Linked DNA regions of Homo sapiens: regions 1, 2, 3, 4, 6 and 7 are each linked to region 5. The links are contacts of gene promoters, found by promoter capture Hi-C in blood cells and fetal thymus (Javierre and others, 2016). All regions are on one chromosome and are shown on one strand. Each heading gives the region's core, a stretch centred on a gene start or on the middle of the fragment in contact. The rest is flanking DNA. Distances are from core to core; before and after follow the strand shown.

Region 1 (3,049 bases), core at 377-2,876, 380 kb after region 5:
GGGAGCAGAACCCCTCTACAGATAACAGTGGAGGGGGGAGGGGGTAAGCAGAGAGAAGAGAGGAATTGACAGAGGAGGTGCTGCTAGCTGTCAGGAGGGAGACCCAAATTCTCATGTCTTCCCATTTCGCAGGCTGTTTGCTAGAAGGACTTAATTAAGGAGCCCAAATATAGTTTCTTTTGAACAGTGAATAGGGCTGGGAGCACAGATGAGGAATGTGATGCTCTGGGGTGGGGAGAGAAGGGACCAATGCTGAGATGCTGGAGGGCCCAGGGTGAAGGGGACAGAGAAGACAGGGGTGAGCTGGTGACTCCTTTTCCCTGCCTTAAGCTCTGCTGCTTTCCTTGATGGAAGGGGGGCCATTTCTTCCTTTCCCATCCTCTGTCCTGATCTCCCTCCAACTCCCTGGCTCCTGCCTTCACCTCCTTTACTGTCCCCTGAGAACAGCTCTCTCTGTCCAGTCCTCCCAGCACTCACCAGAAGCTTTAAGTCTTGGTTCACCTTCTGCCTCCACCAAGCCCCCTTTTTGCCTCCTCCCTTTCGTCCCCCACTCCTTCTCCTCCCAGGCCCCGCTGGCGCCCAGCATAGCACTACAGATGTAGGAGCAGATCAAGAAGGGTGGGGGTGGTAGCTGTTGCTTTTCTGGGATATTCTTAGCCTGTCTGGGGGCTGGAGCTGGAATCAGCGTTTCCATCTCAACCAGGCAGGTGGCTGCCAGAAACTGCCACTGTGACTGGGTCTTCATCTGGTTCCATATCCCTTATCCTGTCCCTTCCTCCTCTATATTGATTTCATCGATGAACACAGACCCTCTGAGAGTCCAGCCTTCCCACCCTTGTGCCCTAGATGGAAGGTTTCCTCTGCCTATCAGGCATAGCCCCAGGAAGGTGTGCAAACCTCACTGGAGGCTCTGCGGGGAAAGAAGGGCCTTCGAGAACTCTAGCTCAGATGCTCCCTAGAGTGGAACACAGCCCTCTCCTCTCTGCCCCCAGGCCCTCTTCTTTCATCTGCCCCCAGCAACCCCTGCATGGTACTCAGTCCCCAGACTGTATTCACCACCATGAAGGCCTTTCTTATCTTGATTTACAGGAATCACTCAGGGGCCCTAGAGTTTCAGAAGCTGCCTCCTGAAAGCGGCTGAACCCTGGAGTCCAGGCCTCCTTTGGGCCAGAACAAGGGGCTCACTGACCCAGATCTCTCCCCACATCTTTTTTTTTTTGAGACAAAGTCTCACTCTTTTGCCCAGGCTAGAGTGCAGTGGCATGATCTTCACTCATTCCTGGGCTCAAGGGATCCTCCCACCTCAGCCTCCCAAGTAGTTGGGACCACAGGCATGCATCACCAGGCCTGGCTAATTTTTGTACTTTTTGTAGAGATGGAGTTTCACCATGCTGCCCAGGCTGGTCTCTAACTCCTGGGCTCAAGCAGTCTGCCCACCTCAGCCTCAAAGTGTTAGGATTACAGGCATGAGCCACCTCGCCCAGCCTTCTCAGATGCCCTTATCAGTAGAGGGAGGGGCAAAGAAGAAATCTCACTCATTCACAAATCGCACAAAAAATGTTTGTCACCTTAAGAGGGACAGACAGTGCAGGGTCTCCTATGTGGGTTCTGAGGTCATTCGGTCTATGTTCAAATCCAGCCCCTCCACTTATGACCTGGGGCCCTTGGGGCAAGTTTCTTAATTCTTCTGAGGTCTATAAAAGTGGACCATACAAGGTGCAGTAGGAAGAGATCACCATCCACAGTCGGGCTGAGGCTGAAAGCACGTACCAGATCAAGTATGAGGAGCTGCAGACGCTGGCTGGGAAGCATGGGGATGACCTGCGTTGTGCAAAGACAGATCTCCGAGATGAACCAGAACATCAGCAGGCTCCAGGCTGAGACTGAGGGCCTCAAAGGCCAGGGGGCTTCCCTGGAGGCCGCCATCGCAGATGCCGAGCAGTGGGGGGAGCTGGCCATTAAAGATGCCAACACCAAGCTGTCTGAGCTGGAGGCCGCCATGCAGCGGGCCAAGCAGGACATGGCACGCAGCTGGGTGAGTACCAGAAGCTGGCCCTGGACATCGAGATCGCCACCTACAGGAAGCTGCTGGAGGGCGAGGAGAGCCGTCTGGAGTCTGGGATGCAGAACGTGAGTATCCATAAGAAGACCACCAGTGGCTATGCAGGTGGTCTGAGCTCAGCCTATGGGGGCCTCACAAGCCCTTGGCCTCAGCTACAGCCTGGGCTCCAGCTTTGGCTCTGGCGCCGGCTCCAGCTCCTTCAGCTGCACCAGCTCCACCAGGGCCATGGTTGGGGAGATCGAGACCCACAATGGGAAATGGGAAGCTGGTGTCCGAGTCCTCTGACGTCCTGCCCAAGTGAATAGCTGTGGCAGCCCCTCCCAGCCTGCCCCTTCTGTGGCTGCCCCAGAGTCCGGGAGGGAGGCCACTGTGCAGGGGAGCACAGGGAATGGGAGACCCACCTGAGGCTCAGCCCTAGCCCTCAGCCCACCTGCAGGGGAGTTTACTGCGTGGGACACCTCCTTTGCCCATATCTCCAGCTACAAAACAATTCCGTTTTTTCCCCCCAAAATAAAACTTCAGCTAGTTCTACCAACTGGCAAAAAAAAAAAAAAAAAATGGACTATCATCATAAGGTTGTAAGATTTTATTTAATCATGCAATGCTCAACAATGCTTGTATATCACATGTGCATGGTGTTCATAAATGTTAATTGTTAACAAATTATACTGTCATCATTATTTTTACAGAGCAGGAGGAAAGCTTTGCCTGACCCGTGCCATTAGCATTTTTTTTCTCATTAGAACATTTTTCATTAAAGGGCCAGGGTGGTACTATCATTTCTTTTTGTTTGGTTTCTGAAACCCAAATTTATATCTGTGCTTTCCTCTCAGATACTGTGCTCATACCCACTGCTACTCAGACTGTTCCTGGGGGTGGTTTGATTTGCTTCCTAGGGTCATAAAGACCGACAGCATATTAGGCACTGGTCCCCTTTTCTGGTCCTGTTGCAGGCCACTTTAATTTTCTGAAGCTCTGAATATTAAT
Region 2 (3,271 bases), core at 169-2,668, 500 kb after region 5:
TGCTGGTGCGGATTTGGAGGGCTGGGAATAAGGCAAGGGAAGGGGTGTCAAACCAGGCTTTGCTGATCAGGCTTATGGTTTCTTTGCCAATACAACACCCTCACAATCTTAGAAGCCTTCTGAGTGGCTCCATGTTTGAGTAACCACAGCCAATGGCCTCATGTAGACCTTATTTTTATGCTTGAACACTCTGGACTTGGTGTTCTTCCTACTCTCCTTTCTCTCAAACTGGTGGTGGCTATCTTGAGTCCATTTGAAAAAACATGCTTGGTGTGAAGGAAATTCTCTTACACTGATCTCTGTCCTCTGAGCCAGTTCCCACTGTCCAGTGAGCAGATGTCCTTGAGAAAGGCTGGGGACCACAGGAACAGCCCTGGCCAAGGCTGTCCTCCCAACTCCATTCTCCTCCACCCTCCCCATTGGCAGAGTAGGAACATTGAGGGTTGATGGAAAACACATGTAATAAACTCAGACAGAAATTCACCAGTCTGTTGTTGAGTGTCCACTCCAGGGCCAGGGCTGGGATGGAAGAGGCTGGAAGGAGGAGAGAAAGGGAGGGGCAGAGAGAGGAAAGCCGGAGCAGCTGGGTCAGCATTCCCAATCCGGACATTGACTCAGGCTCCGGGAATGCCAAGGAAGAGGGTGGCAGCTACTGGAGCCAGGCTGGGATCCTGTTGGCACCAGGGATGTAGGCACAGCACTCACAGAGGGTTGGGGGCTGGGACACCTGCACACCCAGGCATATCTCCCAACCACAGGTGGAAACAGATGTCTCTTCCCCTGCGGGGAGCTCTGAGTGCTCCCCACGCCTTCGAGGTGATTCTCACAGCTCTTCACCTGCCTGAAACACCCACTCCATCTCCTTCACCTGAGAGAGGGACACACTCCAGGGACTCAAATCTGGACATCTGGACATACACTAGCTGCTCTCCTGGACTACCCACAAACCCCTTGCCTCATCTCCAGCCTCTGAGCTGGCTGCAACTTGCCCTTTCTAACTCCAGCACCACCCTCTACTGAAATTAGAACAAGGAAGAAAGTTATGCTGATCTGCCTCCATGTTCCCTTCTTTGGTGCCTGATAAAGATGAGGGAGGCTCTTGGAATAGGGGCTCAGGACTCTGAGAGCCCAACTCTGCTCAATGACCATGTTCCCACATGCTCCAAGCCACATCCCCTCAAAAAGGGTCCCTCTAGCTTGTCCTCAGTGACCCAGGAGGCAGCTGAGGACCAAGTACCCAGATTATCCGGTGCGCCCCTTCCCTCCCAGCAACCCCCAGCCTTCAGGGCTGTAGCAGCTGAGCAAATGGGGGCCCCTCCCTCTCATTGCCTGACACCCAATCAGAGAGAAACCGATCCTGGCAGGGCAGGGTGCCCGGGGCCGGGCCCAGAATAGTGCAGCCCAGCCACAGTGTCGCACACTTGCTCTCAGTTGGTCTGGGGCTGGCCACATGGAGCCCGGGCTGGAGCACGCACTGCGCAGGGTATGGGGGTCCCAGGGGAGCCGGAGCCGGGGCAGCTGAGGCCAGAAGATTGAGCGCACGGGCTGTGAATGTGTGTGTGGGCGTGTGTGTCTTCTGGTGTGTGTTTGGTCTGGATTTTCTCGTGAATATGGGCATGTGCATGTTTGGGCATATGTATTGTGAGTGTGTGTGGTTCTGTGTGCCTGGGAGTGTTTGGATGTGTGTGTTTCTGTGTGTGTTTGTGTATGGCTGCATGTCTGTGTATGGCGTGTGTCTGAGCGTGTGTATTGGTGTGCATGGGTGTGTAGGCGTGTGTTCAGGGAGAAGGGGTTTGGGAATGTAAGGCACTTTCCCCACTCCTTCAGAAACTCTTCTCCCCACAGACCCCTTCCTGGAGCAGCCTTGGGGGTTCTGAGCATCAAGGTAGGGAGAATGCCCCCTCCCTGGGGCCTAACCTCTTCCCCCACCTCCTTGTCCCCCACTTTTCTGGGACCCCAATTCCCTCCCAGCCTGGCTTTTATCTTCCTCCTTTTGGTCTTTCTTCCTCATTGTTCTTCCTCCTTTCCCCAGGTGTGTTTCCCTCACCTCCAATTTCCTCTTTTCAGAAGTGACTTTCCCACTTACTTGCTGTGTGATTTGCAGCAAATTGCTTAACCTCTCTGAATTTCTGGTCCCTCACTAGCAAAATAGGGATGATAATAATGCCTGCTTTATAAGGCTGCTGTAAGTTTTAAATGAGAAATATGTTGGAGAAAAGCCCATTGGAAGCTTGCAAATCCTAAAGATTATGAATAACATTTGAATTGATTTTGATGCATTACTCCCTATTAACCAAACAGGCCCCATTCCCCTTCCAGAGATGAGCTTCCTAGAGCAAGAAAACAGCAGCTCATGGCCATCACCAGCTGTGACCAGCAGCTCAGAAAGAATCCGTGGGAAACGGAGGGCCAAAGCCTTGAGATGGACAAGGCAGAAGTCGGTGGAGGAAGGGGAGCCACCAGGTCAGGGGGAAGGTGAGGCCAAGGCCAGTTCTGGGGAGGTGGGAGCCAGGGGAGTGGGAAATCCCAGAGGAGCCTGGGTCTGGTCTCTACCTCAGGTCCCTCCATAACACAGAGTTGGACCCAACCTTCATCTTGTGGCCTCAGTCTCCCTACATAGTAGAGAACAAGGCACTGCAGTGCCAGAGGCCAGCATGGCCAACTCAGAAAGATGGGACAGAGCCACTACCTGGGGCGACTCTCAGGTCAGCCCCTCACCTGCAAATAGGGCCACAGCATCCAGGCTTCCCACTGCTGCTGTGAGATGAATGGCGACAGCAGATGAGAACGTGCTTTGGAAGATGGAGTTACTGTCCTCTTCCCCTCCTCCCCCAAACAGGTCCCCGGTCCAGGCCAGCTGCTGAGTCCACCGGGCTGGAGGCCACATTCCCCAAGACCACACCCTTGGCTCAAGCTGATCCTGCCGGGGTGGGCACTCCACCAACAGGGTGGGACTGCCTCCCCTCTGACTGTACAGCCTCAGCTGCAGGCTCCAGCACAGATGATGTGGAGCTGGCCACGGAGTTCCCAGCCACAGAGGCCTGGGAGTGTGAGCTAGAAGGCCTGCTGGAAGAGAGGCCTGCCCTGTGCCTGTCCCCGCAGGCCCCATTTCCCAAGCTGGGCTGGGATGACGAACTGCGGAAACCCGGCGCCCAGATCTACATGCGCTTCATGCAGGAGCACACCTGCTACGATGCCATGGCAACTAGCTCCAAGCTAGTCATCTTCGACACCATGCTGGAGGTGAGGCCACGGCTCTGCCCAACCTGTA
Region 3 (2,977 bases), core at 396-2,895, 330 kb after region 5:
ATGCACATCTCATCCTAATTCAGTGCTTAGTGAGGTCATGTTGGTAGCTTAAGGCCTCTGTGGGAGTATCCGCCCGGCACCAACACTGAACTTTATTCTTTTTTCTCTAAGAACTAGTTGTTGACATTTACCAACTTACCAGGAGAATTGTTATAGTCTGCAAAGTCTTGTAAATGGGCTTCTAGAGCCAGAAAAGGACCACCTGTCTTGCAGGTGGGACTTCCCGCCGGGGCTGCCCTACAGATGATTTATGTCATTGTAGGGATTCCCTAGGCCCCACCCAGTCCCTTCTGCGCCCTCTCATCACTTCCCTACCTTTCTCTAAACTTGGCCCTGAGATGCCTACTACATCGCCTGGGTTTGAATCCCACCCCTTAAACCAGCAGCATATTTGGCAACTTGGAATCTTTTAGCCACACTTGGAACGTCCGTAACATTGAAACAAGAATGCCCCATAGTGTAGTGGATGAGGGGAGTCGAATGGGAATCTCCGTAGAGCTCGCGGCACAATGTACCGCACGGACAGGCGAGCGAGGAGGCGCGCGGGCACTGCGGCCGCCCTCATGCTAGCCCCCGCCCCCTCGCAGGCTCCCGGCCTTCGCCAACCTGCAGGAGGCGCTGCTGGAGAACATGATCCAGAACATCCTGGTGGAGGCGAGCCGCGGGGAGGTGGTACTCACCTCGCGGCCACGCGTCATCGCCCTGCCGCCGTTCTGCGTGCCCAGGTAAGGGCGCCGGGACCAGCGGCCGCGCAGACCGCGCGAGAGGGGCCACGGGGGCAGCCAGGCTCTGCCCGAAGCCTCGCCCCCACGCCTACCTGGGACTTTTTGTCTTCCAGGAGTCTGACCCCGGACACGCTGCTGCCGACGCAGCAAGCAGAGGTACTCCACCCGGTGGTGCCACTTCCTACCGACCTTCCGTAAATGCCCGCGCCCAGCCTCTCCGACATGCCGCTAGGGGTCACGCCTGGCCCCCTCTCCACCGCCAGTAAAAGCATCTAGTCTTTTTTCTGTATCTACCTTGACTTTATTTCCCCGACGAGGGGGAACGCGCGCGCGAGCTCTGAGAGGGAAGGATGGCAGGGAGCAGCCCGGGCGGACTGCAGAGGCGCGGCGGGAACTTAGGGCCCGGGAGGATGCACCTCTCCGCCCACACTGCAGCTGGACTGAGACCTGGCCGCTAGCTGCCGGCCGCTGGACCGGGTCTGGCCAGTGGAGGGCGCTCCGGACGGGGCCTGGCTGGCCTTTGCCCCAGCGCACCTTGGTGCACAGTAACTGAGTGCCAGGCCTGGCCAGCGAAGCAGGTGTCCACTGGGCAGGGCGGCCACCCCTCACCTTTCCGCGCCGCGCCTGCTCGGAGGCTTAGCACCCCCAGGGCCAGCCCCTTAGCATTTGCCGAGCTCCGAGTGCCCAAGAGGCTGGGGAGGAAGAACTGAGGCACGCCGCGGAGGGCCAGGAACTAGGCTGGGGCGGGTCGAGGTCACCACTGGATTTCGGGCCACAGACCCTGCTAAGCGACTCCCACTGTGAATCAGTCCTCAGACGAGGATGGATACCCACCTCTCGGTTCCTCCTAACCCCCGCCCGGGAGCTTCTGTCCTCTGCTTCTCGGCTCCTCCCTCCCAGAGGCAGGTGGGTGGAAAAGTGACATCTGGTGTTGTTCCAGAGGCGCCCAGGGTCCCCAGCACCCTCCCCTCCGCCCCCGCCACCAAGGCCTCGGAGAAGCTCCGGTCTCAGAGCCCGGGCGGGGGAGGGGGGAGCGCTCCGCCTCCATGAGTCAATATTTGCCCCGAGCAAACGGGCGCCTGGACAGGTGTGAGTGTGTGTGTCTGGGGGCGGGGACTGAACAGGCAGTATAAGAGCACACGGAGCCCGGGCTCCGGGACAAGCTCCAAGGCGTGGGCTGGGGACGAAGCCAAGCTAGGCTGGGCCGGGCGGAGGGGCCAGGAAAGCCGGGCGGAGGGTGGCTGGGAAAGGAGGGGCGGGCCAGGTGCGCACCTGCGGTGGCCGCCGCGGCCGCCGACGTGTCAGCCGCAGATGCGTTCAGGTGAGGGCGGAGGCTAGCGGGGCGCTGTGCAGCACTGAGCTCGCGGAAGACCAGGACCAGGAGATCACCGAGGGCGACCGCCAGGCCCCGGGCCCTCCGCTCCCGCCCCGCGACGAGCCCCTCGCACAAACCGGACCTGAGCGTTTTGTTCGTTCGGCTCGCGTGAGGCAGGGGCGGCCTCTCAGCACCAGCCCGGGGGCCGGCCTGATCGCCACGCAGGCACCTGCCGCCGCCACCGCCACCGCCATCTCAACCGTACGGGTGGGAGAGGCTGTGCGCCGCTCCAGGGGAGATCCGGCTCCCATCCGGCCCCACCCGCCCTGCCTTGCCCTGCCCGCAGCTTCTGGGCTGCCAGGCTCCATTCTGCGTCGTAATACGGGCTGAGCCGGCTCCAGCGGGTGGCGAAGGGGGCCGTGGCCCAGAACAGAAACCCTTCTGGAGGTGGAAACCCGGATTCTAGTCCGCCTCTGTCCCCGCGACTTCTATGGCCTTGGGCAAGTCATTTCCCGGCCTCTTGGTTTTCCCATTTGCTCAGTGAACGGTTGGTCTGGCCTCCCGCAGGGGCTAGGCCCTCCCCAGCCTCCTGTCCCGGTTCCTGGGCTCCTGGTCATGCTGGGGAAGATGCAGGCCCTCACGGAGTTGGAGCCAAGGCTGAGGTGTGGAAAATCTGGGCGGGGGAAGCTGAGGGCCACCATGGAGCCTCAAATCCACTCCTCGGATCTCTGTGGTGCTGCTGACATCCTGAGATGTCACTCCCTGACACTCCCTTGGTCCCTCTTTCAGTCTAAAAACGTCTGAGACAGTCAGACTGACTGAAAAGGACAAGCCCCCAGGCACAGCGGTTCACCACCTTCCTCAAACCTCAGAATCCCACATCCTCGCTTCCATCAGCTGGGGTGGGGTAGGTAGGTGGCCCTCAGCTCAGGCAGAG
Region 4 (3,142 bases), core at 333-2,832, 410 kb after region 5:
GACTTAGACTTTTGAGTTAATGCTGGAATGAGTTAAGACTTTGGGGGACTGTTGGGAAGGCATGCTTGGCTTTGAAATGTGATGACATGAGATTTTGGAGGGGCCAGGGGTGGAATGATATGGTTTGGCTCTGTCCTCACCCAAATCTCATTTCGAATTGTAATCCCCACATGTGGGGGGAGGGGCCTGGTGGCAGGTGATTGAATCATTGGGGTGGAGTTCCCGCTTGCTATTCTTGTGAGAGTGAGTTCTCACAAGATCTGGTTGTTCAAAAGTGTGTGGCACTTCCCTCTTCACTCTCGCTCTTTCCTGCTCCACCACGGTAAGACATGCTTGATTCCCCTAACCCCTCCACCACAATTGTAAGTTACCAGCCATGCTTCCTGTTAAGCCTGTGGAAATGTGAGGAAATTAAACCTCTTTTCTTCATAAATTACTCAGTCTCAGGTAGTTCTTTATAGTTAAAATGGATTAATATATCATGTGTTGATGAAGTTCCTGTTATTCCCTCCTTACCCTCCTACGTGGATTATCTAAAGATATTTATTTCACTCCCACAAAAATGTTTTGTTCTCACCCATTCCCGAGAGCTGAAAGTAGGCTGTGGGAACTTTGAGTGAGAAAATAAGAGCAGCCTACTCCCCCTGACCATATTCCTGCCTGATGGCCAGTATTTGGGTGACACTTCACCCTGCCACCAATTTTTTGAGTCCTATTTCCCACAGACTCTGTGTTAGTCCATTCTTGTGCTGCTATAAAGAAATACCTGAGACTAGGTAATTTATAAAGAAAACAGGCTTTGATTTGGCTCACGTTTCTGCAGGCTGTACAGGAAGCATGGTGCCAGCATCAGCTTCTTGTGAAGGCCTCAGGAAGCTTTCAATCATGGCACAAAGTGAAGGGGAGCCAGCACATCACATGGTGAAGAGAGGGCGCAAAAGAGAGAAGGGGGAGGTCTCAGATTCTTTTAAACAACCAGTTCTCATGTGAACTAACTGGGAGAGAACATCACCAAGAAATGGTGCTAAGCCATTTGTGAAGGATCCACCCCCATGATCAAATCACCTCCCACCAGGTCTCACCTCTAACAGTGACGGTTACATTTCAACATGAGATTTGAAGAGGACAAACACCCCAAACATAACAGACTCACTTGTGACTTTGCCCTGTAAACTTTCAGGGAAAATGAGGTCACTTCTGACCCAGAGACTCTGTCATCTTACCCTCTCCTGGGGGTCTTCATCTAAAGAAGTAAGTGTAAATTCCTTACTGATCCAGTTTTGTATGTGTATGTGTGTGTATACACAAAATTTACTATATAGAAAGTAAATTCTTCTACTATATATATGCATTATATATATACACATTATAATGTATATATATAATGTATATATAAATATATATAATTGTGTGTGTGTGTGTGTGTGTGTATATATATATATATATATACAGTAGAAGAATTCAGAGGTGTTAGAAATTATGAAGAGGGGCCAGGCACGGTGGCTCACGCCTGTAATCCCAGCACTTTGGGAGGCCAAGGCGGGCGGATCACGAGGTCAGGAGATCGAGACCATCCTGGCTAATGCGGTGAAACCCAGTCTCTACTAAAAATACAAATATTAGCCAGGCGTGGTGGCGGGTGCCTGTAGTCCCAGCTACTCGGGAGGCTGAGGCAGGAGAATGGCATGAACCCAGGAGGCAGAGCTTGCAGTGAGCTGAGATCATGCCACTGCACTCCAGCCTGGGCGACAGAGCGAGACTCCATCTCAAAAAAAAAAAAAAAGAAAGAAATTATGAAGAGGATTATAAGATAACTACCACAGAAGGCAGGTGGAAGTGGTCTCTGTGGAGAAGGAAGAATTGGGGAAGAGCCCACAAGGAACACACGAGACCATCGTTATATTTGTTTCTCACCCTGAGTAGTGGGTACACAGATGTTCACTGGACTATTAATCTTTAAAATGTACATATATATTTAACACATTGAAGTGTACATGATGGATTTCATAATTTTTTTAAAGTAAAATATTGTGAAAGGGAAGGGAAGGAAGGAAAGGAAGGCAAATGAAAGGAAAAGAAAGGAAGAAAGAAAGAAGGAGGGAGGATGGGAGGAAGAAAGAAAACTGGATTTGTTAATAGGAAAGAATATATCAATGTCAAATCCCCATTCTAGGCTAGCATTATTCAGCATCCAGAAGGATCATCTCAACAATTACTCAGTGGATCAGCTTATTTAATTGATGACTGTACAGTTAATTCATGCTCAAAAATCAAACATTCTAAGCTTCTTTCTATGAATATCTTCCAGACCAAGATTATTCATCTCATGGTTTTAAAGGACAGAATTTCCTGGAGAATGTTGGTCCTCTTGTAGGTGCTACTGCAGCAAAGTTGAAACAATCATACGTCAGACCAAAATACAAGTCAGTTCTTCAGTTTTCACTAATTAAAATTAACTCTGTCTAAATAAATCAACTCTTACCACCTTCAGGATTCATATCTCAAGTAAGAGACATTCTTACTGACCAATAACACAAAATATCCCACCCTCAGCACTAGGATCCTCAGTTTTGAATTCTTTCAACCATTTTTGTCAAAAGCCTTGCTGTAGCCAGGTGTGGTGGCACATTCCTGTAATCTCAGCTACTCGGGAGGCTGAGGAGGGCAGATCCATTGTCCCTAGGAGTTGAAGGCCAGCCTGGGCAACATAGCAAGACTCTGTCTCAAAAAAAAAAAAAATACATGACAACAATAACATGAAAGCCAGGAGAATGCTAAAATGAATTAAAGTGTCATAAGGTCCCTAGAGTTATTTAGAAAAGGGTGAAAGTACTAATTCAAGGGTGACCTAATTAAGCCAAGGATGCATGCTATAATATGTGGGTAATAAAATAACAATAATAGCAAACACGTGACTACTAATTTATAGAGGATGAAAATGAAATAATTAGGAAAATATTGATTGATCCAAAAGAAGGCAAGAAAGAGGTAAAAAGAAACAAAAAACAGATGTGAAAAATGGAAAAAAATGGCAAAATGGTATACTTTAAACCCTACAGTATCAGTAATTACCATAATATAAATCAATTAAAGGCAAAGATTTTCAGACTGGACAAGAAAAAAAAAACAACTATATGCTGTT
Region 5 (3,052 bases), core at 514-3,013:
ATAAACCTCTAGTTTTTGGCGTGACAAGACAGAAACTTGTGTCGGATCCTCCTAACATTGGGTATATACTCTAGGCAAAATATAAAAATAACTGTATGAAAGCATGGAGACTGATCAAGAGTTAGAAACCTACAGGGAGTATAGTCCTCAAAAAAAGGAAGTCCACCAAGTGACTTATACATGTATAGGCTTTTCCTCTGAAGATACTTCAGAGTTCACTGCAGTACACAGGGAAACAGCTCTGTCAGCAACTGGCAGTCTTACTAAGGAAACAGCTTTTGGAGTACAGAGATGCCAGAGCATCTGGAAATTGAGGAAGAAATTTAGAAAATGAATAAATTACAGAGAGAGGAACTCAAAATCTGCATCCTAACTCCCCTCCAATTCTTAGCTATCTTCTAAATGGCACTTGCGCAGGGTGAGATTTCAAGGAACCTAGTGAAAAAGTCAAATATCTGAACAGAGATTTTGGCAGCTGTCACAGTGTTAGGGTGACTGAGTTTGGAGTTCAGGACCCGTAAAATAGAGAGTTTTGGTAAATGACTTTGGGTTATGTTGAAATCCAAAAAGGACCACACCTTAGCCATAAGCACCATATCCCAGGACTAAGAGATACAGGCTAGAATTGAGAATAGGATGAAGTACTCCTTCCCTAACCAGACTGCCACAGGATCAAGACTTTTTACCAAAAATTTAATTGCCTGCCAGAACAAACTCAAACTATTACCCTTTAAAGATAATAATATAATTCAGATCCTTTGTAATGTATCAACCCCAAATGTTCACTATACAAACCCTTAGGTTTAAGTAATCCACTATCTCGACCTCCCAAAGTGCTGAGATTACAAGCATGAGCCACCATGCCCAGTTTAATAAATGTTTTAAGCTTAATGAAAAAAAATTTAAATGCCAGTCTAAGAGTTAGAAAGCTCACAAACTAGCTTGTAAGTACACAAGAGTGAAAGCAAGAGGTCAGTTAGCTAGTTAGTTACTACAACAACTCAATTTAAAAGAGTACAGTGTCCAAGGCCTGGCATGGTGGCTCATGCCAGTAATGCCAACACTTTGGGGGGCCAAGGTGGGAGGATTGCTTGAGCCTAGGAGTTTGAGATCAGCCTGGGAAACATGGCAAAACCCTGTCTCTACAAAAATAAATAAATAAATAAATAAAATTGGCTGGGCATGGTAGTGTGCACCTGTAGTCCCAGCTACTCTGGAGCCTGAGGTTGAGTAGAGGTCGAGCGGAGGTTGTGGTGATCTGAAATTGCAAGACTGTCTCAAAAAAAAAAAAAAAAAAAAGTACAGTGTGCAGTGGTTTGGACCAAGGCGATGGCAGTGGATGTGGAGTAAAGTGGATGGATGTGCCATATATAATATATAATATATAATATTATATATATATATATAGCAGATCGAACCTATATGATTTCTAAAGGGTTTTAAGTGGGCCAGAGTAAAGAGTGTCAAGGATAATAAAATAAACTAAATTCCTTGAGTGCCTACTGTTTCATCGCTGTTCATATTTGATTCTCACAACAAACCTGAGTAGGTACAACTTGCACCCGTATCTTACGTGCCATCCGTTTCTGCAGCCTTAGGACTGGGAGTACAGGCGGTGGTTCTTGGGACCCAGCTAATGCCCGAAAGGAGCCGGGTCAGGAATTCCAAGAGATGAGGGTGGGGAGGCGGTAGGGGAAGGAGCTGGGGAGGCGACCGCAGGGGCAGGGCCCGCTCACGATTGGCTGAACTGCCGAGGAGGGTTAAACAGATTCGGAGTCGCGGGCTGGTGGGAAGCTGCAGCCCCGCTCAGCCCCTCGGCCGTGGCCGCTACCTTCACTGAGACTTGGCCGGGGAGTGAGCGCGCCGAGCCTGGGAGGATACAGCACCCACTGTGGCCTGGGAGCTCCGAGGGGCTCCAGCTGCTTGTCTGCTTCCTGCTGCTGAACAGCTGCCCGGGGGGCTGCAGCGACACTAGTGCCCACGGTCAGGAGGAACCCTGGGGGGTGCGGGCAGGGCCAAGAAAGCGATCCTGAGAAGTGGGGGTCTGCAGGGGGCCTCAAGGCTAGGAAACTTGGAAGTAAAAGAATGTGCTTAAGGACGTGAGAAGAGAAAAAGGTAGACAGCGTCTAGCGGAAAGAGGCATAGGCTTCAGATAGGCTGGGCATATGGGGTCTGGACTCACGAGAAGTGGGTTCAGGTGAAAATTGGGGATTTGGGAAGAGGTCAGAAAGACAAATGAACAGAGAGAGGTAAAACTGGCCTATGTGGCCACAGGAGAAGCAAGAAAGGCCAGAAAAAGAGTTGACCAGGGCTGCGGGTATCGGGGTCTTGGCTCCAGGGAGAAGGCTGGGCCAGGAGACGAGCCAGGGCTTCCTCGTGCTGTGATCCGGTTTCCAATAAGGGGACCGCTGAGGGAAAGCAGGATGGAGGGGGAATGGGACCATCCTTCTCCCCTTCCCCCGCACCAATCCGCGTAGACCCCGCGCTGACTCACGTGCCAGACTGCGCACACTCGAGAACTCCTGCGCAGAGCGCATGGGGAAGAGAGCGCAAACTCCTAGTCTGTCGCCCCCTCTCCCTGATTTTTGGTTTTAGAGGCCAATGCAGCGGATTCAGGAACAGCTGTGGGAGGAGGCCTGGTGGCAATGAGAGGATGAGGGCCGTGGGGAAGGACCGCCAAGCCTTGCGGAGATGTCTCGCCCACATTCCGCCCAGCGCCGCCGCCACGCTGGCCTCCCCACCTCTCAGCACCACGGACAGCGCCAGGCGCGCTCCGGGTCCACGCCGAGCCCGAGCGGGTCACCACTCCTTCCCACCAGTCCTGGGAACGCTGCCTCAGAGAATCAGCTCCCCTTCCCGAAGCTCTTTCCCTTCTCCTCAGGGTGTTGGAGGTTCCACTACTTCCTTAAGGAGGCTTTCTCATCCCCAAATGTCTCTACTTAAAACTTTGTCACGCTTACCCCCAGGAAATTATTAGACATCCATTTGACTGGGTAGGAGAATTCCCTTTTCTAAAGACCTGTCCAGAATGGCTCATGGTAACTACACTATA
Region 6 (3,306 bases), core at 21-2,520, 400 kb after region 5:
GATAGGAGGATTGCATTAGCCCAGAAAGTCGAGGCTGGAGTGATCTGTTATCCCACCACTGCACTCCAGGCTGGGCCAAAGAGCAAGATCCTGTCTCAAAAAAAATGAAAACCCAAAAAGTATTATAGAGGGATAGGCTAAGCAGTTAACCAATCAAAGAGGGTTTTTTTTTTTATGGATTTTGTGGTGTTTGCAATATTTGTGAGCTTTATAGAAGTTATAATTTGACATGATTTCTTTTCTTGTCCTAAATAAATAATCATTTTACTGCCTAATATTATACTCGTAATTTTATAATCTCTTTCTTAAGAAGAGCCCTCCTGAATGTATAACCTTCAGGCCCCACAAAGCCTATTCTTTCACCTTTAAATAACACAGGCCCTACCCTCAAGGAATTCACAGTTAGAGCCTGCACAGATTACAGTAAAAGCATCATTCTGGGTAAGACTTCATTCCTCCAGGAAGTAATGCAGCCCTCCCTGCTTCATGCACCAGCACATCAGATAAACATTCTCCCAAGTCCAGAATAATTATATCTTTCCTTTTTTTTTTAAACAGTATAAAGAACATTTTTGCTTAACCTGTTTGAGGATAAGTTGTCAACATGATGCCTCATTATTCATGAATATTTTAGAATGCATTTCCTACCACAAAGAATGTCTTAGCTCATTCAAGCTGCTATAACAAACTAGCATAAATTGGGTGGCTTATAAATAACAGAAATTTGTTTCTCAAAATTCTGGAGGCTGGGAAGTCCAAGATCAAGGTCCTGGCAGCTTTCTTGTCTGCTAAGGGCCCAATTCCTCACAGACAGCTATCTTTCCATTGTAACCTTACTCACCTCCCAAAGGCCCCACTTTCTAATATCATCATCTTGGGGGTTAGGATTTCAACAAATGAATTTGGGGGCCGGGGGAACATAAACATTCAGTGCATTGCAAGGACTTTTTCCTGCCAACCACAATGTAATTAATGATCAAAACAAGAAACTGACTTTGAAATATTACTGCTAAACAGTCTACACATCTATTCAAATTTCACCAATTGTCCCACTAATGTTATTTTTCAGTTCCTTGAACCAATCCAGGATCCCACATTGCGCTTAGCTGTTAATGTCTCTTCATTGGTGATTTTAACCTTGATCACTTGATGAAGATGGTATGGTATCTGCTAGCTTCTCCACTGTAAAGTCACACTTTTTCCCTTGGCAAGATGCTTTGAAACTAAGTAAAATTACTCATAAAATTTTGAATTATTTATTTTTATCAAATGGATTCGTGGATTCCCATTTTATTTAATGTGTTATAATCTGTTACTATCCTTATTTCAATGCTCAAATTGTCCCAGATTTGGCCAATGGGAGCTCCTTCAAGCTAGTTTCTATGTCTCTTTGACAGAATAGATATTATTCTTTCAGCATTTCTTCATTCTCTGGCACAGTAAAGTATTCTAGGTTTATCTTGTATTTTTCCTTCCTTCAGGCCTAGAACCAACCATTTCTCTAAGGAGCCCTGGTTCCTGTTAGGAAAGAAAGGTGTTTAGAAACTAAGATCTGGATGCTAGATATGCTCATTGCTATTGGGGTGTTGCTCTTCCTAGCCCCACTCAGTGGACAGCCCTAAGAAATATACTCCACACACACACTTCTATATCCATCTATGTATACTGAAAACTTTAAGTTCACACTAATACCTCTAATTCTAATCCAATACTCCAGCATTCACTCTAGTTTCATCTCTTTCCATTTTGGTGGTGGAGGGGGTGGATTGTTTTTTGAAGCAGGGGTTCTCTCTGTCATCCAAACTGGAGTGCAGTAGCATGAACATGGCTCACTGCAGCCTTGATATCCTGGACTCAAGCCATCCTCCCACCTCAGCCTCCCAGGTAGCTGGGACTACAGGCATCTGCCATCCCACCCAGCTTATTTTTATTTTTTGTAGAGATGGGGTTTCACCATGTTGCCCAGGCTGTTCTTGAACTCCCGGGCTCAAGTGATCCTACCTCAGCTTCCCAAAGTGCTGGGATTATGGGGATTAAGACGTGAGCCACTGTGACTGGCCCATATTTTTAACTTCTTTCTCCAATAGTGAGAAACCTGGTTCCCATTTTCTTCAATCCATTTACTCACTATATAAATCCCTTTGCATGTTAACCAATATCCTGTCACTGCCACATTCCCTCCTTCCCAAAACTTCTATAAATGTTCTTCTAATTCCACTTGGGTTCTGACACCCTCTGCTGGGTCATCCCTGATGTCAAAGCTCTCCTCACTCCTTTGGTGCCTGACATCTGTGTCACATACGAACATTTTCTTTCCCTCTTGGTGCATCAACATACCACCCAAGACCACCTAACATGTAGATGTCCTTGTCCATCTTTCTGGGCTCTGACACCCTGTCCTGGATCGCCCTTCCATGGAGATGACCTCCTCACCCCATTCAGGCTCCTACATCCTATGCAGATGCTCTTCCCACCCCTACTCAGGCTTGGACACCCTCCACATCAAGCATCATAATAGTAATAAGGTATTGTAAGATATCCCCCTGATATTAGGACCAAGTCAAGAATGTCACTATCATTACTTCTGTTTGACATTATACTGGGATCTGAACTGAAAAGAAATAAAAGGTATAAGTACGGGAAGGAGAAAATGAAATTGTTCATTATTAAGAGACTACATGACTGTGCATGCAGAAAGTAAAAAGTACTGGACAGAAAGAACAAATGAGTTTAGCAAGGTCACTAGATACAAGGGTCAGTATTTTAATGATTAATTTTATTCTATATATGAGCAATAACAATTGGAATTGAAATTTTAAAATATTACTGATATAGCATCAAAAAAATCAAATACCCAGGAATAAATCCAGTGAAAGATATTCAAGATTCTACACATGAAACCAGCAAACATTACTGAGAAAAATTAAAGAAAATCTGAATAAATGGAGGAAAAGAAACCATGTTAGTGAATTATAAAACTCAAGAGTGTTAATTTTTCCCTAATTTATTACTACATTAAATGTAATCCTAACCAAAATCTTAGTAGATGTTTCAATGGAAATTGACAGGCTGATTCTAAAATTTATATGGGGCTGGGCGCAGTGGCTCATGCCAGCACTTTGGGAAGTAATCCCAGCACTTTGGGAAGCCGAGGCAGACGGATCACTTAAGTCCAGGAGTTTGAGACCAGCTTGGCCAACATGGTAAAACCCTATCTCTACTAAAAATACAAAAATTAGCCAGGCATGGTGGTACACGCCTGTAATTCCAGCTACTAGGGAGGCTGAGGCACGAGACTTGCTTGAA
Region 7 (3,341 bases), core at 236-2,735, 460 kb after region 5:
AATCAGGGACCCCTATTAGGTGATAGGAAGTGCTCAGATAGGTTAACTGACTTGACCAAGGTCAAGCTAGCAAACAAGGCATTTTTCATTGTACCATACAACTTCCTCTGAATTCCTTTTAACCTGCCTAGAATGGTGCCAGTTCATGCCACTTCCCCAGCTTCCCTCCCTGGCATTGTGGAGGAAGATGTCCAGCATCTTCCACCCTATCTCACCCCCTGCAGGACCCAGCAGTGGTAGAGTCTGGGAGGCTGGCATCCCAGCCCTAGGTCTGGGCCAGCCCAGACGTCCCAGACAGTCTGGAACCCTAGAAGCTTGACCCAAGCTGTCTGTAGGTCTCCTTGCTTCCTTTCAGTCCTATCCTCTCCTGCCCACCACTCTCTGAGTTTCCCAGATGTCCTGCAGGTCCTGTCTGTCGCTCCCTGTTAATAGAGAAGCTGGGCTCCGCATGCCCTCTGGTGGTCTCTGAGAGAAGTGCAGGAGTTTGGGTTTTGGGCTTGTTTGGTTTTTTTGTTTGTTTGAAGATAAGAGCAGAGCTTTGGGGAAGGCAGATCTGTGAATATAAACCTTGCCCTCAGGGAGCTTCATTTCTCCTCTATGTGGACCATAATGTATTTCCACTGTCTCCTTTGGTAAGTTAACAGAGTTTCCTTTGGTCAAGGAGTTCTAAGTCCAAATTCTCCATGACTTCCCTGAGGCCCAGACATTTGACCCAAGGGAGCCAAGAGGAGGCAGAAAGGAAAACCCTGGTGCCTCAACCTTCCCACTGCAGCCTGACACCCCTCCCCACCATGAGCCTTGAGGATTGAAGCAGGCTAGGTCACCGAGTGAATGCAGGGGCATTGCGGGGGAAGGACAGGGGTCCTGGAAGCCACGGTGAGGGTCTGTCACATCCAGAACGAGCTCCCTTTCCTTCTGTTTCATTTGAAGGACTGTGCTTTGCTCCCTGTGCCTGCCCCACCCCCCTGTGGTTCTAGAGAGGCTGTCAATCCCAGGCATGGTAGTACATCTCCCTAGACACCATTATTGGTTCAGGAATAGGCAAATGACCAAGCTGAACTAAGCAAGGTCTTCCTTGGGACTTCTGTTGGAGACAACTGGGAAAGTCATTCTTCTGCTTTTGGATCTAAGACTGCATATAGAGCTGTCATGGAGAAAGTCTGCAGGAGGAGATAATGAGGACAGTATGCCAAGAGAGGCAGAGATAAGCAGAAACAATAGATGCAGAGGCGAGGGAGAGGGAAGGAGATGAGAAAGAAGCCTGTGACACCACGTGAGCCCCTGGGTTCAGCTGTACCTGAATTCAGACTAACCTCTGGACTTCCCTGGTATAAAAGCCATTCATTATTTCTGTTTGGCCTCAGCTAAAAGTCAGGTATCTTCATTTGCAATCAGGGCCTGCCCAATATCTGCAAAGCATCATATGTCTGTCCCCATTCTCACAGTAACTATCATTTACTAAACATATGTTTGACAAATTATGTGTCACAAGCTATGCTAAAGGCTTTCATATCTCAAAAAAAAATTCTCCCAACAATCCTGTGAGGGTGTGGGACAGATTATGATGGCTGCAAATTATTTGCCACTCCTCCCATTGAGAGGTGGAATTAATTTTCCCTCCCTTTGAATTTTGCCTGGCTCTGTGAACTGTTTTGACCAATACACAGTTACAGTGATGCTATGTAACTTCCAAAGCTGGACTTGAGAAGATACTTACAGCTTCTGCCTTCAAGTTTGGTACACTTTCCTTTGAAAGTCAGTTTTGGCCGGGCGCGGTGGCTCACGCCTGTAATCCCAGCACTTTGGGAGGCCAAGGCAGGCGGATCACGAGGTCAGGAGATCAAGACCGTCTTGGCTAACACGGTGAAACCCCATCTCTACTAAAAATACAAAAAAACGTATCCAAGTGTGGTGGTGGGCGCCTGTAGTCCCAGCTACTTGGGAGGCTGAGGCAGGAGAATGGCATGAACCCAGGAGGCAGAACTTGCAGTGAGCTGAGATCACGTCACTGCACTCCAGCCTGGGCAACAGAGCGAGACTCCATCTCAAAAAAAAAAAAAAAAAAAAAAAAAAAAAAAAAAAAAAAAAAAAAAAGAAAGTCAGTCTTATGTAAGAAGTCTGACTATCCTAAGGCTAACATGCAGCGAGGAAGCCCAGGTTAGCCACATGGAGAGAATGAGAGCACAAGAGAAGCTCTGTGCCCTAGACATGTGAGTGGGGGCTTCTTGGACTGTCCAGCACAGCACAGTGGAGACTCCAGCAGAATGCAGCCATGTGAACCCAAGCCAATGGTTCTGCTATATAGAGCAGACCTACCAAGCTGAGTTCTGACCAATCATGACCTCAAAAATCCTGAGAAGTGATTACTTTGGGGTTGTTTGTTATGTAGCAATGGATAACTGAAACAGAGCGAAATCCCTTTGTATAAAGAAAATGAGGCTAATTTGGCCTCTGTTGTAAAGTTCTAAGCAGCAGCACCAACTGCAAACCCAGAGTGTCTGACCCCAAAGCTCATTTTTTGTCCTCCATACCTTGATGGGGGAGTCATTCCCCATTGCAGTATTTGGACTGGAGGAAAGTTGGAGGCTCTGGGTCCTGGAAGTTGGGCTATGCCATCCCTCTTTCTCTCTGGAGGAAGATGAGAGCTCAAGCTTCAGCTCTGGAGAATCCAGAACTGCCCTCTGTCTCCTCACTTTCACCAGTAGCTTCCCAAGAGGAACCAGAAGGAAGGAAATATTGTTGGGTGTCAAGAGGTATGCATCAGAAGCTTCTGATGCCCCTGTCCCTTTAAAGAGGAATTGCTAGTTCTTCTCCAGCTTGCAGATCCAGGACCTAGATGTGTGACAGGAGTGAACAAGAAGAATGCCAAGGGGAGATAGCGAGTTTCCAGGAGAGGCCAACCTGGTCGGGAGATAGGGACCCAGGTGATAGCCCCTGAGGTGCTAGTTCTAGCAAAACCACCTTCTTCTGGAGCCTGGCAGCCTGAAGATCAGTCTCCCCCAAAACTGTGGGTCCAGCCCTGGTGGTTTAAATATCTTTATTGATACTAACCTCACCCACCATCCTGTGGCCAGCAGTTCTGGGGAGCCCAGTATCCAGAGGCCTTTAGACTGGCTTTTTTCCAGTCTAAAAAACTGTTTCCTCCTAGAGGCCAAGGGGAGGGAGGGCCTGTACAGTGTCCTTTAAACGCTCCCCGAGCGCCTTTTCGGGGCCGTCTGGCGCCCTGGGCCTTCGTGGGTGGGCGTTCCTCTCAAGCCCCTCGCCTCACCATTTCCAGAGCCCTGGGAGTTGGGCTTTGGCAGGGAGAGGCTGGGCTCGAGCGGCGAGAGGCGCCCGGTGCC

What was found. The method cuts DNA at HindIII sites, captures the fragments that hold promoters and counts their contacts. A CHiCAGO score of 5 or more calls a contact.
Region 1: a contact is called between a fragment that was not itself captured here and the fragment with the promoter of RESP18 in region 5, in 7 of 17 cell types (M2 macrophages, M0 macrophages, erythroblasts and 4 more). The highest score is 10.6, in M2 macrophages.
Region 2: the fragment with the promoter of PRKAG3 here is called in contact with the fragment with the promoter of RESP18 in region 5 in 8 of 17 cell types (naive B cells, activated CD4 T cells, total B cells and 5 more); the score reaches 11.2 in naive B cells.
Region 3: the fragment with the promoter of CFAP65-AS1 here is called in contact with the fragment with the promoter of RESP18 in region 5 in 6 of 17 cell types (M2 macrophages, M1 macrophages, megakaryocytes and 3 more); the score reaches 10.9 in M2 macrophages.
Region 4: a contact is called between a fragment that was not itself captured here and the fragment with the promoter of RESP18 in region 5, in 4 of 17 cell types (M2 macrophages, erythroblasts, total CD8 T cells and 1 more). The highest score is 8.5, in M2 macrophages.
Region 6: a contact is called between a fragment that was not itself captured here and the fragment with the promoter of RESP18 in region 5, in 2 of 17 cell types (M2 macrophages and M1 macrophages). The highest score is 7.3, in M2 macrophages.
Region 7: a contact is called between a fragment that was not itself captured here and the fragment with the promoter of RESP18 in region 5, in 4 of 17 cell types (M2 macrophages, M1 macrophages, megakaryocytes and 1 more). The highest score is 9.5, in M2 macrophages.

What each region holds. Positions count from the first base shown.
Region 1 is chr2:218,952,715-218,955,763 of GRCh38, reverse strand. It overlaps the pseudogene KRT8P30. Among named protein-coding and RNA genes, the nearest start is that of CDK5R2, 5.4 kb to the left of the region's middle. The HindIII fragment of the contact is 2,281 bases long and covers 486-2,766 here.
Region 2 is chr2:218,829,950-218,833,220 of GRCh38, reverse strand. It overlaps PRKAG3 (protein kinase AMP-activated non-catalytic subunit gamma 3), which reads left to right and starts at 1,418. Exons shown (of 14, transcript NM_017431.4): 1 at 1,418-1,483; 2 at 1,846-1,885; 3 at 2,320-2,475; 4 at 2,840-3,243. The coding sequence starts at 1,451. The HindIII fragment of the contact is 3,600 bases long and covers 1-2,232 here.
Region 3 is chr2:219,000,883-219,003,859 of GRCh38, reverse strand. CFAP65-AS1 (CFAP65 antisense RNA 1) reads right to left here and starts at 1,645. Exons shown (of 3, transcript NR_046086.1): 1 at 1,560-1,645. It overlaps CFAP65 (cilia and flagella associated protein 65), which reads left to right. Exons shown (of 35, transcript NM_194302.4): 34 at 588-725; 35 at 839-1,014. The coding sequence ends at 923. MIR375 (microRNA 375) reads left to right here and starts at 2,152; the gene lies at 2,152-2,215. RefSeq lists an enhancer at 1,579-1,873. The HindIII fragment of the contact is 13,795 bases long and covers 1-2,977 here.
Region 4 is chr2:218,919,799-218,922,940 of GRCh38, reverse strand. LINC01494 (long intergenic non-protein coding RNA 1494) reads left to right here. Exons shown (of 5, transcript NR_110238.1): 3 at 1,181-1,251. It overlaps LOC124906119 (a long non-coding RNA gene), which reads right to left. Exons shown (of 2, transcript XR_007088090.1): 2 at 2,217-2,380. Among named protein-coding and RNA genes, the nearest start is that of LINC01494, 9.3 kb to the left of the region's middle. The HindIII fragment of the contact is 1,408 bases long and covers 879-2,286 here.
Region 5 is chr2:219,331,455-219,334,506 of GRCh38, reverse strand. It overlaps RESP18 (regulated endocrine specific protein 18), which reads left to right and starts at 1,763. Exons shown (of 6, transcript NM_001441699.1): 1 at 1,763-1,983. The coding sequence starts at 1,878. The HindIII fragment of the contact is 5,862 bases long and covers 889-3,052 here.
Region 6 is chr2:218,935,325-218,938,630 of GRCh38, reverse strand. All of the region lies in intron 1 of LOC124907984 (a long non-coding RNA gene), which reads right to left. Among named protein-coding and RNA genes, the nearest start is that of LINC01494, 6.3 kb to the right of the region's middle. The HindIII fragment of the contact is 5,628 bases long and covers 1-3,306 here.
Region 7 is chr2:218,873,913-218,877,253 of GRCh38, reverse strand. WNT6 (Wnt family member 6) reads right to left here. Exons shown (of 4, transcript NM_006522.4): 4 at 3,021-3,341. It also overlaps a transcript of WNT10A not described here. Among named protein-coding and RNA genes, the nearest start is that of WNT10A, 5.3 kb to the left of the region's middle. The HindIII fragment of the contact is 2,337 bases long and covers 317-2,653 here.